Linked DNA regions of Homo sapiens: all the other regions are linked to region 3. Evidence: promoter capture Hi-C in human tissues and cell types (Jung and others, 2019). All regions are on one chromosome and are shown on one strand. Each heading gives the region's core, a stretch centred on a gene start or on the middle of the fragment in contact. The rest is flanking DNA. Distances are from core to core; before and after follow the strand shown. Region 1 overlaps LOC122539214 (Zinc finger protein LOC122539214). Region 2 overlaps ZNF611 (zinc finger protein 611). Region 3 holds the start of ZNF600 (zinc finger protein 600).

Region 1 (4,006 bases), core at 1,213-3,712, 110 kb before region 3:
CTTAGACATTTTAGGGAGGCATTAGACATCAATCAAATACATTTAAAAGATGCATTAATTTTGTTCAGAAAGGTGGGACAACTCAAAGTGGGAGCTTCCAGGCTACAGGTAAATTTAAACATTTTCTGATTAGAATTGGTTGAGTTTGTCTAAATACCTGGGATCAATAGAGAGGAAATGTTCAGGTTAAGATAAAAGATGTTGGAGACCAAGGTTCTTTTGAAGTCCTCTGCTGGCTGCCTTCAGAGAAAATAGATGATGAATGTTTTTTATTCAGACCTTTAAAAGGTGTTAGATTTTTAGTTATTCTCTTCAGGATTGGTAGGGCCTAGAAGAAAAAGATCTAGCTATGTTAACAGAGATTCTTTGCAGACGCACATGAACCCCTCACAAACGATACCTTTGAAGGACCATTTCAAAATATGGCACAGAAACATGTTTTGAGGTCAAATATTTTGACTTTCTTCTTTGCCATATGTTTTGTGGTTTGTAAGGCATGACCCCCTAGACTCTTTACATAGGAATTTGGACAAGATAAAAAAATCAGAGCTTACACCTCATTCTCAAATACTTTTTTTTACAGTTCTTCCCTGCAATATAACTACTTTTACGATAAATGTTGTTGACAACATAATATGCTAACATCAATAATTTATAAATGTATTGTAATATTAAATTCACTCTATGTGCCTTCTGAAAAAATTAGAAAATGTACCTTTTATCTTCAAGTTGTACTTTTTTTTTTTCCTTCAGACAGGACCTAGTTCTGTCACCCCGGCTGGAATGCAGTGGCAGGAACACTGCTCCTTGCACCCTCAACCTCTGGTGCTCAAGCAATCCTCCCGCCACACCTCCCAACTAGCTGGAGCTGCAGGCCCTCACCACCAAGCCTGGCTAATTTGTTAGTACTTTGTAGAGGGGTGGTCCCACTATGATGCTCAGGCTAGCCTTCAACTCCTGGACTCAAGCGATCAACCCACCTTTGCTTCCCAAAGTGTTGGGGTTACAGGCAAGCCACCACACCCATCCAATTGCAATCTATTTTAGGTGTTTTCTTTGTTATTCTCTCCTGAGTGTTCTATCAGGTGGGAATAACAAAGGCTATAAAATATGCAGTCTTTAAATGTTAGGATTTATTTTCATATAGAGAAAGATCATGAAATATTACTAAGAATACATTGCAGTCAAGTTATTCCGTTTTACTTGGGCCCTGAAAAAATATAACTAAGTTATAAAATTGGCTGGGCACATTGACTCACACCTGTAATCCCAGCACTTTGGGAGGTCGAGGCAGGTGGATGACCCAGAGGTCAGGAGATTGAGACTAGCCTGGCTAACATGGTGAAACCCCATCTGTACTAAAAATACAACAATTAGCTGGGTAAGGTGGCACAAAACTGTAATCTCAGCTACTCAGGAGATTGAGGCAGGAGAATCTCTTGAATCCAGGAGGCAGAGGTTGCAGTGAGCAAAGATCTCACCACAGCTCTCCAGCCTGAGCAAAAGAGTGAGATTCTGTCTCAAAAAAATAAAAATAAAAATAAAATGAAATTATAAATCACCTCATTTCTGCATGTAATACTTTTATGACTATATCTGTAAGTTAACATGTACTATGAACTATGTTTTTCTCCCACATCCCTAGCTATGGAAGAATTCATCTATCAAACACTAGTAATTAGCTAAAATATGATTACATTTAGAAGGGAAATTAGCATATCTAGAATATTAGCAAGTTTAAAAAAGCATAATGTCGTCAGGCATGGTGGCTTGTGCCTGTAATCCGAGCATGATGGGAGGCTGAGGCAGGAGGATGGCTAGTGCCCAACAGTTGGAGTCCAGCCTAGGCAACATAGCACCTCATCTTTATGTTTTAAAAATTAATTAAGTTACTTATTTATTTTTGAGATTGAGTTTGGTTCTTGTTGCCTAGGCTGGGGTGCAATGGCACGGTCTCGGCTCACTGCAACATCTGCCTCCTGGGTTCAAATGATTCTCTTGCCTCAGCCTCCCAGGTAGCTGGGATTATTGGTGCTCGCCATCATGCTGGGTTAATTTTTGTATTTTTAGTAGAGACGGGGTTTCACCGTGTTGGCCAGGCTGGTCTCCAAATCCTGACCTTCCAAAGTGCTGGGATTACAGACATGAGCCACCGTGCATGGCAAAAAAGTTTATTTTAATCAGAAATAATTAATAAATAGAACATGATAATGGGTACAAAAAATAGAATAAGACCTATTATTTCATAACACAACAGAATGACTGTAGTCAATGATTAAATTGTACATATAAAAATGGGGATGGCCAGGTGTGGTGGCTCAAACCTATAAGCCCTGTCTCTACCAAAAATACAAAAAAAACTGGATGTGAGCCTGTAATCCCAGCTACTCAGGAGACTGAGGCATGAGAATCACTTAAACCCAGGGAGCAGAGGTTGCAGTGAGTGGAGATTGCACCACTGCATTCCAGACTGTGCGAAAGAGCTGGACTCCATCTCAAAAAACTAAACAAATGGCTGGGCACAGTGGCTCATGCTTGAATCCCAGCACTTTGGGAGCCAAGATGGGTGGATCCCCTGAGGTCAAGAGTTCGAGACCAGCCTGACCAACATGGTATAACCCTGTCTCTAAAAAAATACAAAATTAGCCGAGGGTGATGGCGCATGCCTGTAATCTCAGATATTCAGGAGGCTGTGGCAGGAGAATCATTTGAGCCAAGAAGGCAGAGGTTGCAGTGAGCTGAGATCGCACCACTACACTCCAGGGTACACAAGAAGAGTGTAACTCCATCACACACACACACACACACAAAATGCTATAAACAGAACATCAGAAAAAAAATATAGAAAGTCACATGTATTTAAAAACCTTAAGCTTTTGAAAGCTGTTTTCCCAAGTAATCAAAAATGAGCCAATAACGATGCAAATATTATCTTTTTGTTTTTTGTTTTTTCTGGAGACAGAGATCATGCAACTGCACTCTAGCCTGGGTGACAGAGTGAGACTCCAACTCAAAAAAATAAATAAATAAAAAATTATTAGGCCAGGAGCAGTGGCTCTTTGGGAGGCTGAGGTGGGCCAATCACCTCAGGTCAAAAGTTCGAGACCAGCCTGGTCAACATGGTGCAACCCTATCTCTACTAAAAATACAAAAAATTAACCGGGCCTGGTGGTGTGTGCCTGTAATCCCAGCTACTAGGGAGGCTGAGGCAGGAGAATTGGTTGAAGCTGAGAGGTGGAGGCCGCAGTGAGTCGAGATCATGCCACTGCCCTGCAGCCTGGGTAACAGAGTGAGACTCCATCTCAAAAAAAAAAAAAAAAAAAAAAATTACCAATGTCAACTGAACTTGGAAAGCACCACACATTTGCACACTCACACAGACACAACCCTCTGATATGGCTCTAGACCAAATCCACAGGTTAAAAAGCCCTCAAATGAACTCTTGGGCCTTAAGCCTTTCAAAAGATCACCTGTTTCCTGTGAGGTTGGGGCTGTGGCCCTGATGTGTGAAGACTTAGGACCATCCTGTCATCATAGAAACCCTAAACAAAATAAAGAAGGAAATTTACCTCAACAATATAAAAGACCATCCATGAAATGACCACAGCTGAAATAACCAATCAGGAAAAATTGAATGCTTTTCCTGTAGGATCTCACATGATGCTAGAACGTTCTCACCCTTTCTATTCAATCAATACTGACTGTCCTAGCCAGAGCAATGAAATAGCAAAAGAAATCAAACTCATCCAAATCAGAAAGAAATAAATAAAATTTTATTTGTTTGTAGATGACACGATCCTCTGTGTAGAAAGTCACAAAGACTCAACCAAAATACAAGTGGAACTAATAAACATTCAGTGGATTTGCAGAGTACAATATTAGCACCAAAATTAGTTGAATTTCCATGCAATAACAGTAAAAAATTTTAAAAGGAAATTAAGAAAACACTTCCATTTTCTAGAGAATTTAAACTAAGATATACTTAGGAATAAACGTAAAAATGCGA
Region 2 (4,169 bases), core at 812-3,311, 83 kb before region 3:
GTACTTGGGAGGCTAAGGAAGGAGAATCACTTGAACCCGGGAGACGGAGGTTGCAGTGAGCCGAGATCGTGCCACTGCACTCAAGCCTGGGGGACAAGAGCGAAACTCCGTCTCCAAAAAAAAAAAAGAAAAGAAAAAAAAGAAACAAACTTCTTTTGCAAGGTTCTGAGGCCATTGACTCCTGACAGTTTGTTCTTCCTTACAAGAAAATCACAGTAACATTTATAAAATGCAGAGTTGTGAACACATAGCTATTGACCTTGGAAACAGGGAAAGAAGGTCAGGTGTACAACTAAGACATAAGCAAATTGTTTCAATCAAGAATACATGAGTGGTCAGGCACGGTGGCTCACGCCTGTAATCCCAGCACTTTGGGAGGTCGAGGTGGGCAGATCACCAGAAGTCAGTAGTTTGAGACCAGCCTGGCCAACACAGTGAGAGCCTGTCTCTACTGACAATGCAAAAACCTAGCCAGGAGTGGTGGAGGGCACCTGTAATCCCAACTACTTGGTAGGCTGAGGCAGGAGAATCACTTGAACCCAGGAGGCAGACGTTGTAGTGACACCAGATCGCACCATTGCAGTCCAGCCTGGGCAACAAGAGCAAAACTCCATCTCAAAAAAAAACCCCCAAAAAAACAAAAAGAAAAACAAAAAAAAAACCGAGGCTGGGAGCAGTGGCTCACACCTGTAATCTCATCACATTGGGAGGCCAAGTCGGGTGGATCACAAGGTCAGGATTTGAGACCAGCCTGACAAACGTGATGAAACCCCGTCTCTACTAAAAATACAAAAATTAGCCAGGCATGCTGGTGGGTGCCTGTAATTCCAGCTACTCAGGAGACTGAGGCAGGAGCATCACTTGATCCCAGGAGGCAGAGGTTGCAGTGAGCTGAGATTGCACCACTGCCCTCCATCCAAGGCGACAGAGCAAGATTCCATTTCAAAAAAGAAAAGAAAAGAATACACGGGTGCTTTTGGAGGAGCGTTCTATGCCAATCCAGCCCATGTTTCAACATTTTTCCAGAATGGACCAGAGGGCCTTGAGGGAAACACGCAATAAATAGCTCCCAGATCAAGATTTTAACAAAGGACATAAGGAAAGAAAACTGAAAAACAGACTAACTGGTTAAAGTACATTTTGATGTTTAGTTAAAAGGCCACTGACATATTTACCAAGTACACACTGAAACAATCAAACTTAAGTTTAGGTACCAAAGGTTTTCAATAAATAACAAAGACTAGAAAGCATGCAGACATTGATATGAACTGGATGCAACTAATTTAAAACAGCAACTATTTTGAAATTGTTTTTTAAAAAAATCTAACGAATTCTGGGGTCAACCGGAAAATAACTGGAAAATATACAAGTACAGAAACGAATGATGTGAGCTGATTATAGGATGCTGCAAAGGCATCTTTCAGAAGTCATTATGTATTAAGAAATACAACTTTTATAACTTAGATTTATCTCAAACTCAAACTGCAAAATAAATAAATAAATAAATAAAAAATAAAGAGAGAAATGAAGAGGAACCAGAAAGAAAAAGAAGGAAGTCCATTATACGAGAAGAAAAGCATTTTTGAGGTCTTTTTTTGTTATTTTTTGTTTGTTTGAGATGGAGACTCACTCTGCCACCCAGGCTGCAGTATAGTGGCACAATTTTGGTTCACTGCAACTTCTACCTCCTAGGTTTAAGCAATTCTCATGCCCCAGCCTCCCAAGTAGCTGGAACTAAAGGTGCACACCAACACCCCCGGCTAACTTTTGTATTTTTAGTAGAGATGGGGTTTCACCATGTTAGGGTGCTTTTGAAATTGTGACCTTAGGTGACCAGTTCACATGGGTCGACCAAAGTACTCTGATTGCAGGGATGAGCCACCACGTACCGAGGCTTTGATATCCTTTTTTTTTTTTTTTTTTTTGAGATAGACTCTCACTCTGTCGCCCAGGCTGGAGCCCAGTGGTGCGATCTCGACTCCCTGCAAGCTCCGCCTCACAGGTTCATGCCATTCTCCTGCCTCAGCATCTGGAGTAGCTGGGACTACAGGCGCCAGCCACCATGCCCAGCTAATTTTTTGTATTTTTAGTAGAGACAGGGATTCACCCTGTTAGCCAGGAAAGTCTCGATCTCCTGACCCCGTGATCTGCCTGCCTCGGCCTCCCAAAGTGCTGGGATTATAGGCATGAGCCTCCGTGCCTGGCCTCATATCCCTTTTAAAAATTACTATGATATATCCCTTTCAAAAAGTACTAACTGAAAAAAGTACTATCTCTTTAAAAAGTACTGGCTCAAAAAAATAATAGAAAATAAGAAACAAAAAACAGGCTGAGAAAAGTGGCTCACATCTGTTGGCCATGCTGGTTTCAAACTCCTGACCTCAAGTGACCTATGTGCCTTGGCCTCCCGACGTGCTGGGATTACAGGTCGGAGCCACCACACCTGGCCCCATCCTCTTAACATAAACACTTGAATGTCAATAAAGGCTTGAACTCAATGTTAAGTCAACACAAACTCAAGTCAATGCTGAATTGACTCCAATGTCAATTAATGCTTGATGGTTTGCTATACTCATTTCATTGGGAACGGTTATCTCAAAAATGAATTTTCTGATGTTCTGCATGGAGTGATCTTGGACTGAAGACCTTGCCACACTGATGACATTTGTAAGATTTCTGTCCAGTATAGATTCTCTGATGTCTAATGACGTGTGAACGTGAAGCAAAGGCTTTGCCACAATCATCACACTTGTGAGGTTTCTCTCCTGTATAAATTCTCCTATGTTTTGCATAGGATGAAGCTTGACTGAAGACCTTGGCACAGTCATGACATTTGTAAGGTTTCTCTCCAGTATGAGTTCACCGATGACCTGCAATATGTGAACGATCTCTGAAAAATTTGCCACATTTATTACACTTGTAAGATCTCTCTTCATTATGGATTCTCCAATGATTTGTAATCGTTGTAGCATTACTGAAGACTTTGTGACAATCATTACATTAGTCAAGTTTCCCTACACCATGAATTGCCTGATGGTGAATAAGTGTTGACTGCTTGCCAAAGGCTTTGCCACACTCATTACACTTGTAAGGTTTCTCTCCAGTGTGAAGTCCAGTATGTTGTTCCAGGTGTGAATCACTCCCAAGTCTTGTCAGAAACCTTACATTTGTAAGCTTTCTCTCCAGTATAAATTCTCCTATGTCTTTAAGGTGTGATTTCCAAATGGAAACTTTGTCACATGCTTCACATTTCTAAGGTTTCTCTCCAGTATGAATTCTATGATGACGTGAAAGGTGTGATTGTTGATTAAAAGCCTTCCCACATTCATTACACTTGTAAGGTTTCTCTGCAGTGTGAATTCTGGTATGTCTTGACAGGAGTGAATTACGCACGAAAGCCTTGTCACAAATTGTACATTTGTAAGATTTCTCTCCAGTATGAAGTCTACGATGGTATATAAGGGATGAGCAGTGACGGAAGGTATTGCCACACTCATTACACTTGTAAGGTTTCTCACCACTATGAAGTCTACGATGGCAATGAAGGGATGACCTGCGACTGAAGGTCTTGCTGCACTCATTACACTTGTAAGGTTTCTCACCACTATGAACTCTATGATGGCATACAAGGTATGACCTGTGACTGAAGGTCTTGCTGCACTCATTACACTTGTAAGGTTTCTCTCCACTATGAATTCTAGTATGTTTTGCCAGATAGGAATGACACGCAAAAGCCTTGTCACAAACCTTACATTTGTATGGTTTCTCTCCAGTATGACCTATCTTATGTGTCTCAAGGCTTGATTTACGACTGAAAACCTTTTCACATTCATCACATTTGTAAGGTTGCTCCCCAGTATGAATTGACTTATGAATTAAAAGATCTGAATTTTGACCAAAGGTCTTCCCACATTCATTACACTTGTAAGGTTTTTCTCCACAGTCAATTCTAGTATGTTTTGCCAGTTGTGAACTCCACACAAAAGCCTTGTCACAAACCTTACATTTGTAAGATTTCTCTCCACCATGAAGTCTATGATGGCATACAAGGGATGACTTGTGACTGAAGGTCTTGCCACACTCATTACATTTATAAGTTTTCTTTGCAGTATGAATTCTTCTATGTCGAGCCAGCTGTGAATGCCACGTGAAAGCTGTGTCACAAACCT
Region 3 (4,126 bases), core at 1,512-4,011:
GTGCCAGTGCACTCCAGCTTGGGCAAAAAGAGCAAAACTCCACCTCAAAAAAAAATAATAATAATAATTAGTAGGTAGGCCCGGCATGGCGGCTCATCCCTGTAATCCCAGTACTTTGCAAGGCCAAGACAGGAGGAAACTTTGAGCCCAGGATCTTGAGACCAGCCTGGGAAACATACTGAAACCCTGTTTCTACAAAAAAACAAACAAACAAAGAAAAAAAACAACTAGCTGGGCTTGGTGTCTCACACCTGTGGTCTCAGCTACTAGAGAGACTGAGGGAGGAGGATCGCTTGAGCCTAGGAGGTCGAGGCTGCAGTTAGAGTAGAGAACGCTATTGTAATCCAGCCTGGGTGACAGAGCCAGACCCTGTCTCAAAATATAAACTAATTAATAAATTAAAAGTATTATGTAATAAGAGAAAGTGATTTTTTTTCCCCCACATCACTGTCCCACTTCCTACCCCACCCTGGGAAAAGGGAAGAGACTGACTCACAACTGAATAACTGGGATTCCAAGTAGAAGCTAACCTCTGATACCAAAATTTATAGAATGTACATGTCTCATAGACAGGAGTTTTAAAATTCTAAATCTCATCTGTATAATTTAAACAAGGTATTAGATGATATACACAGAAGTCAACATGTCACAACTAATCATATCCAATGAACTCACCCACTTATCTGTACCCAAAGTCCCCCACCCTTTTTTTCTTTTGAGACAGGGTCTTGCTCTTTTGACCAGGCTGGAGTACAGTGGCATGATCTCTGCTCACAGCAGCCTGGAGCTCCTGGGCTCAAGTGATCCTCCTGCTTCGGCCTAGAGAAGCTGAAACTGCAGGTGCACACTATCACACCCGGTTAAATTTTTTTTTTCCTTTTTTGACAGAGATGGGGGGAGCCTCACTATTTTGCCCAGGCTGGTCTTGAACTCCTAGACTCAAGCAATCCCTTTGCCTCAGTCTCCTAAAGTGCTGAGATTACAGGCATGAGCCACTGCGCCCAGCCCCTCTTTCTTCATTACTGTGCTTCCCTCCCTAATTCTGTGCATATCTCTCATTCTCCCCTTCTCTCTCTAGCTCTTGTTTTCTTTTCTTTTTCCCTGGGATTGTGCTCCTCATTTTGTACCCCTCTCCTCTCCTGCTGTTTATCCCCTTCTTCCCTCTATTACTTCTCTTCCACCTCTTCTGCTCCATTCTCACAGCTTATTTAACCTCTTTTTTTTTTTTCCTTTTTGAGATGGAGTTTCACTCTTGTTGTGCAGGCTGGAGTGCACCGGTGCGATCTTGGCTCTCACCGCAACCTCTGCCTCCCAGGTTCAAAGGTTTCTCCTGCCTCAGCCTCCCTAGTAGCTGGGATTACAGGCATGTGCAACCGCTCCCAGCTAATTTTATATTTTTAATAGAGACGGGGTTTCTCCCTGTTGATCAGGCTGGTCTCGAACTCCGGACCTCAGGTGATCCACCCGCCTCAGCCTCCCAAAATGCTGGGATTACAGGCATGACCCACAGCGCCCGGTCCTTATTTAACCTCTTGTTGTTCTTTCTCCCCAATCTTTCAATCTTCCTCAATGTCTATATATTACAGCCTCTTCTCTTATCTCTCCGTCTCCTCTGCTCTCCCTATTAAATTCTCTCTTCCCTGTTATACCCCTCTGTCCCCACTCTCCAGCACCTCAGATCCCCAGGTGTCCTCCCTGCTGTGGTTCTCCATCTGTTCTTGCCACCAGCACCACTCTGCTCTGTCTGCCCTGGCTCCAAATCCCTCCTCCTCTCCCTCACTCTGGTGAGCCTCCCTCTTTGCTGCCCCTCTCCCTACCTTGCTGTCCTTCATCTTTCTGTACATCTAGCTTTTCTCTACATTTCTCCAGTTGCTTTTCTCCTCCTGCTTTCTTAGTTTTTTTTCTTTCACTTTTGCTGTCTCTTGGCAAATTCCTAACCCATCCTCTACTTTGCCATCTGTTATGGGCCTTTCTCATTCTTCTTTTCTCTGTCTCTGGTTTTCTACTGCTCTCTCAGTCCCTCTCTCTATCTCCTGATCCCTTTGGCCCAGGCGGGTTTGGAGTAATCACAGGCGGGTTTGGAGTAAGACGCCTGCATCCCGTAGAAGCGCATTTTCCAGGGGGTGGAGCTGGACAGGAAAGAACACCTGGTATCATAGGACAAGCCCCTGCGACCCACCCCAACCCTGGCTCAGGGGAAGCGAAGACTTGGGGAGCAGCAGGGCCCGGCACCAGGAGGGACGTGGTGGGCGACGGCACCCTAAGACAAAGGTGGGACCTGCAGGATCCCAGGACCAGGCAGAGGACGCAGCCTCCCCGGGGCTGGGGCCGGGGCGCCGCGCTCCAGGTGCCAACTGGGGCGAGGCTGGGAGGCGCCCAGGGCTGGAATCCACCTCGCGGGTGAGGACTTTAAAAAGCACGGGGCGGGAATAGTCAGAAAAATGTTTTGAGCAGGAAAAATACGCGATAGGAAGTGTATACATTGCCCTATAGCAGAAAGACCGGGGACGGGACCAGCCTCCGAGCGACTTCAAACCCAAAAGCAAGCAACTTCCAGACTCTTACCGGGACGTCTCAATTTGCTCTGGGTGAAGGGAAGACAGGCGAGAATTTCCAGGTCCGTGGGGATCCCACGTCCCAGGGGCAGAAGCGCCGGGGACCTGGGAAGTGCAGACTTAATCCAAGGCAGAGCAAAACTCACGCGCCGTGGTAGGACCTTCACTCCACGCGATCCGCTTCCGGGTTTGTGCGCGCCCAGGACTGAAGCCAGGCCGGGGCAGGTTGGCTGGACCTGGGCGGGGTAGAGGCGGGGCCCCAGGCGGAGAGACCTTGCCCTTTAGAACCGGCAGAGGGAGGGCCCGGGGCGGGACCTGTGCTTCTCAGCCTCGCACTCAGCGCCTCTGTTTTTCGAGTTTTTGGAGGCGACAGCGGCCAGGAAGGCTGAGGCATGATTCAAAAGCCCTGGAATTATCTGGAACGGGAATGCAAACTAGAATGTGAAATGCAAAGCCCTGCCAGGGCGGAACATACGATTTCATGCTGATGGCCCACAGAACAGAACAGAAATCCTCTCCCTTTCTATTCTCCATTCACTCAGGAGGGAGGGTCCACCCCGTGCTCAGCTTCAAAGTGTTCCCTAGGGCCTCCGCCTGGGATGCGGGACGGAGAGCTCAGGCCAGGGAGGAGTGAGGTCACCACCTGCTGCCTAAACACAGCAGGGATGCGGGCACGAGGCGGAAGCCTGAGGTCCCAGCTACTCAGGAAGCAGCGGCGGGAGAATCCCTGAACCTGGGGGTCCAGGCCATCCTGGGCGACAAAGTAACACCCCCTAACTGCAGGGTCCTCTTCCTGATCTCTCTCTCGCTCTTTTACTTTTTTTTTTTTTTTTTTTTTTTGAGACGGAGTCTCGCTGTGTCGCCCAGGCTGGAGTGCAGTGGCACGATTTTGGCTCACTGCAAGCTCCGCCTCCCGGGTTCACGCCCTTCTCCTGCCTCAGCCTTTCGAGTAACTGGAACTACAGGAGCCCGCCTAACCCAAACAAAAACAAGACCGGGCGCGCTGGCTCACACCTGTAATCTCAGCACTTTGGGAGGCTGAGGCGGGCAGATCATGAGGTCAGGAGATCGAGACCATCCTGGCTAACACAGTGAAACCCCATCTCTACTAAAAAATACAAAAAAATTAGCCAAGCGTGGTGGTGGGTGCCTGTAATCCCAGCTACTAGGGAGGCTGAGACAGGAGAATGGAGTGAACCCGGGAGGCGGAGCGTGCAGTGAGCCAAGATCGTGCCACTGCACTCCAGCCTGGGCGACAGAGCGAGGCTACGTCTCAAAAAAAAAAAAGAAAAAGAAAAAGAAAAAGAAATATCTCCCCTAGTTTGTCTCCTTTTCCAGAATTTACCAGATACCAGTACACAGATACCAGTGCATACATTAATGTATGACTTTCATACATAGATTCTCTGATCTGATCCACAAAGAGCTAAATGTGCATCCAGATGTGGCCCCTGAACAATCCCTGCTGCCCAATATCACTGACACCTTGGGGTCCACACCCCATCTCCATCCATCTCTGGTGTGAGCCCTTCCCAGGACCATGCCCAGTGCAGCCTCTTCCCAAGCTCATG

The links. The method cuts DNA at HindIII sites, captures the fragments that hold promoters and counts their contacts. A contact is called where the count stands out against the background at its distance.
Region 1: a contact is called between a fragment that was not itself captured here and the fragment with the promoter of ZNF600 in region 3, in 2 of the 25 tissues and cell types used here (H1 embryonic stem cells and pancreas).
Region 2: a contact is called between a fragment that was not itself captured here and the fragment with the promoter of ZNF600 in region 3, in 2 of the 25 tissues and cell types used here (adrenal gland and mesenchymal stem cells).

What each region holds. Positions count from the first base shown.
Region 1 is chr19:52,670,712-52,674,717 of GRCh38, forward strand. The region is part of intron 1 of LOC122539214 (Zinc finger protein LOC122539214); the gene reads right to left. It also overlaps a transcript of ZNF83 not described here. Among named protein-coding and RNA genes, the nearest start is that of ZNF83, 34 kb to the left of the region's middle. RefSeq lists enhancers at 1-88, 3,299-3,798. The HindIII fragment of the contact is 8,097 bases long and covers 1-4,006 here.
Region 2 is chr19:52,701,685-52,705,853 of GRCh38, forward strand. ZNF611 (zinc finger protein 611) reads right to left here. Exons shown (of 6, transcript NM_001161499.2): 6 at 1,129-4,169. The coding sequence ends at 3,253. Among named protein-coding and RNA genes, the nearest start is that of ZNF611, 31 kb to the right of the region's middle. The HindIII fragment of the contact is 3,945 bases long and covers 90-4,034 here.
Region 3 is chr19:52,784,030-52,788,155 of GRCh38, forward strand. It overlaps ZNF600 (zinc finger protein 600), which reads right to left and starts at 2,762. Exons shown (of 6, transcript NM_001321866.4): 1 at 2,566-2,762. RefSeq lists silencers at 1-23, 2,771-2,920 and enhancers at 1,722-2,580, 2,581-3,438. The HindIII fragment of the contact is 28,786 bases long and covers 1-4,126 here.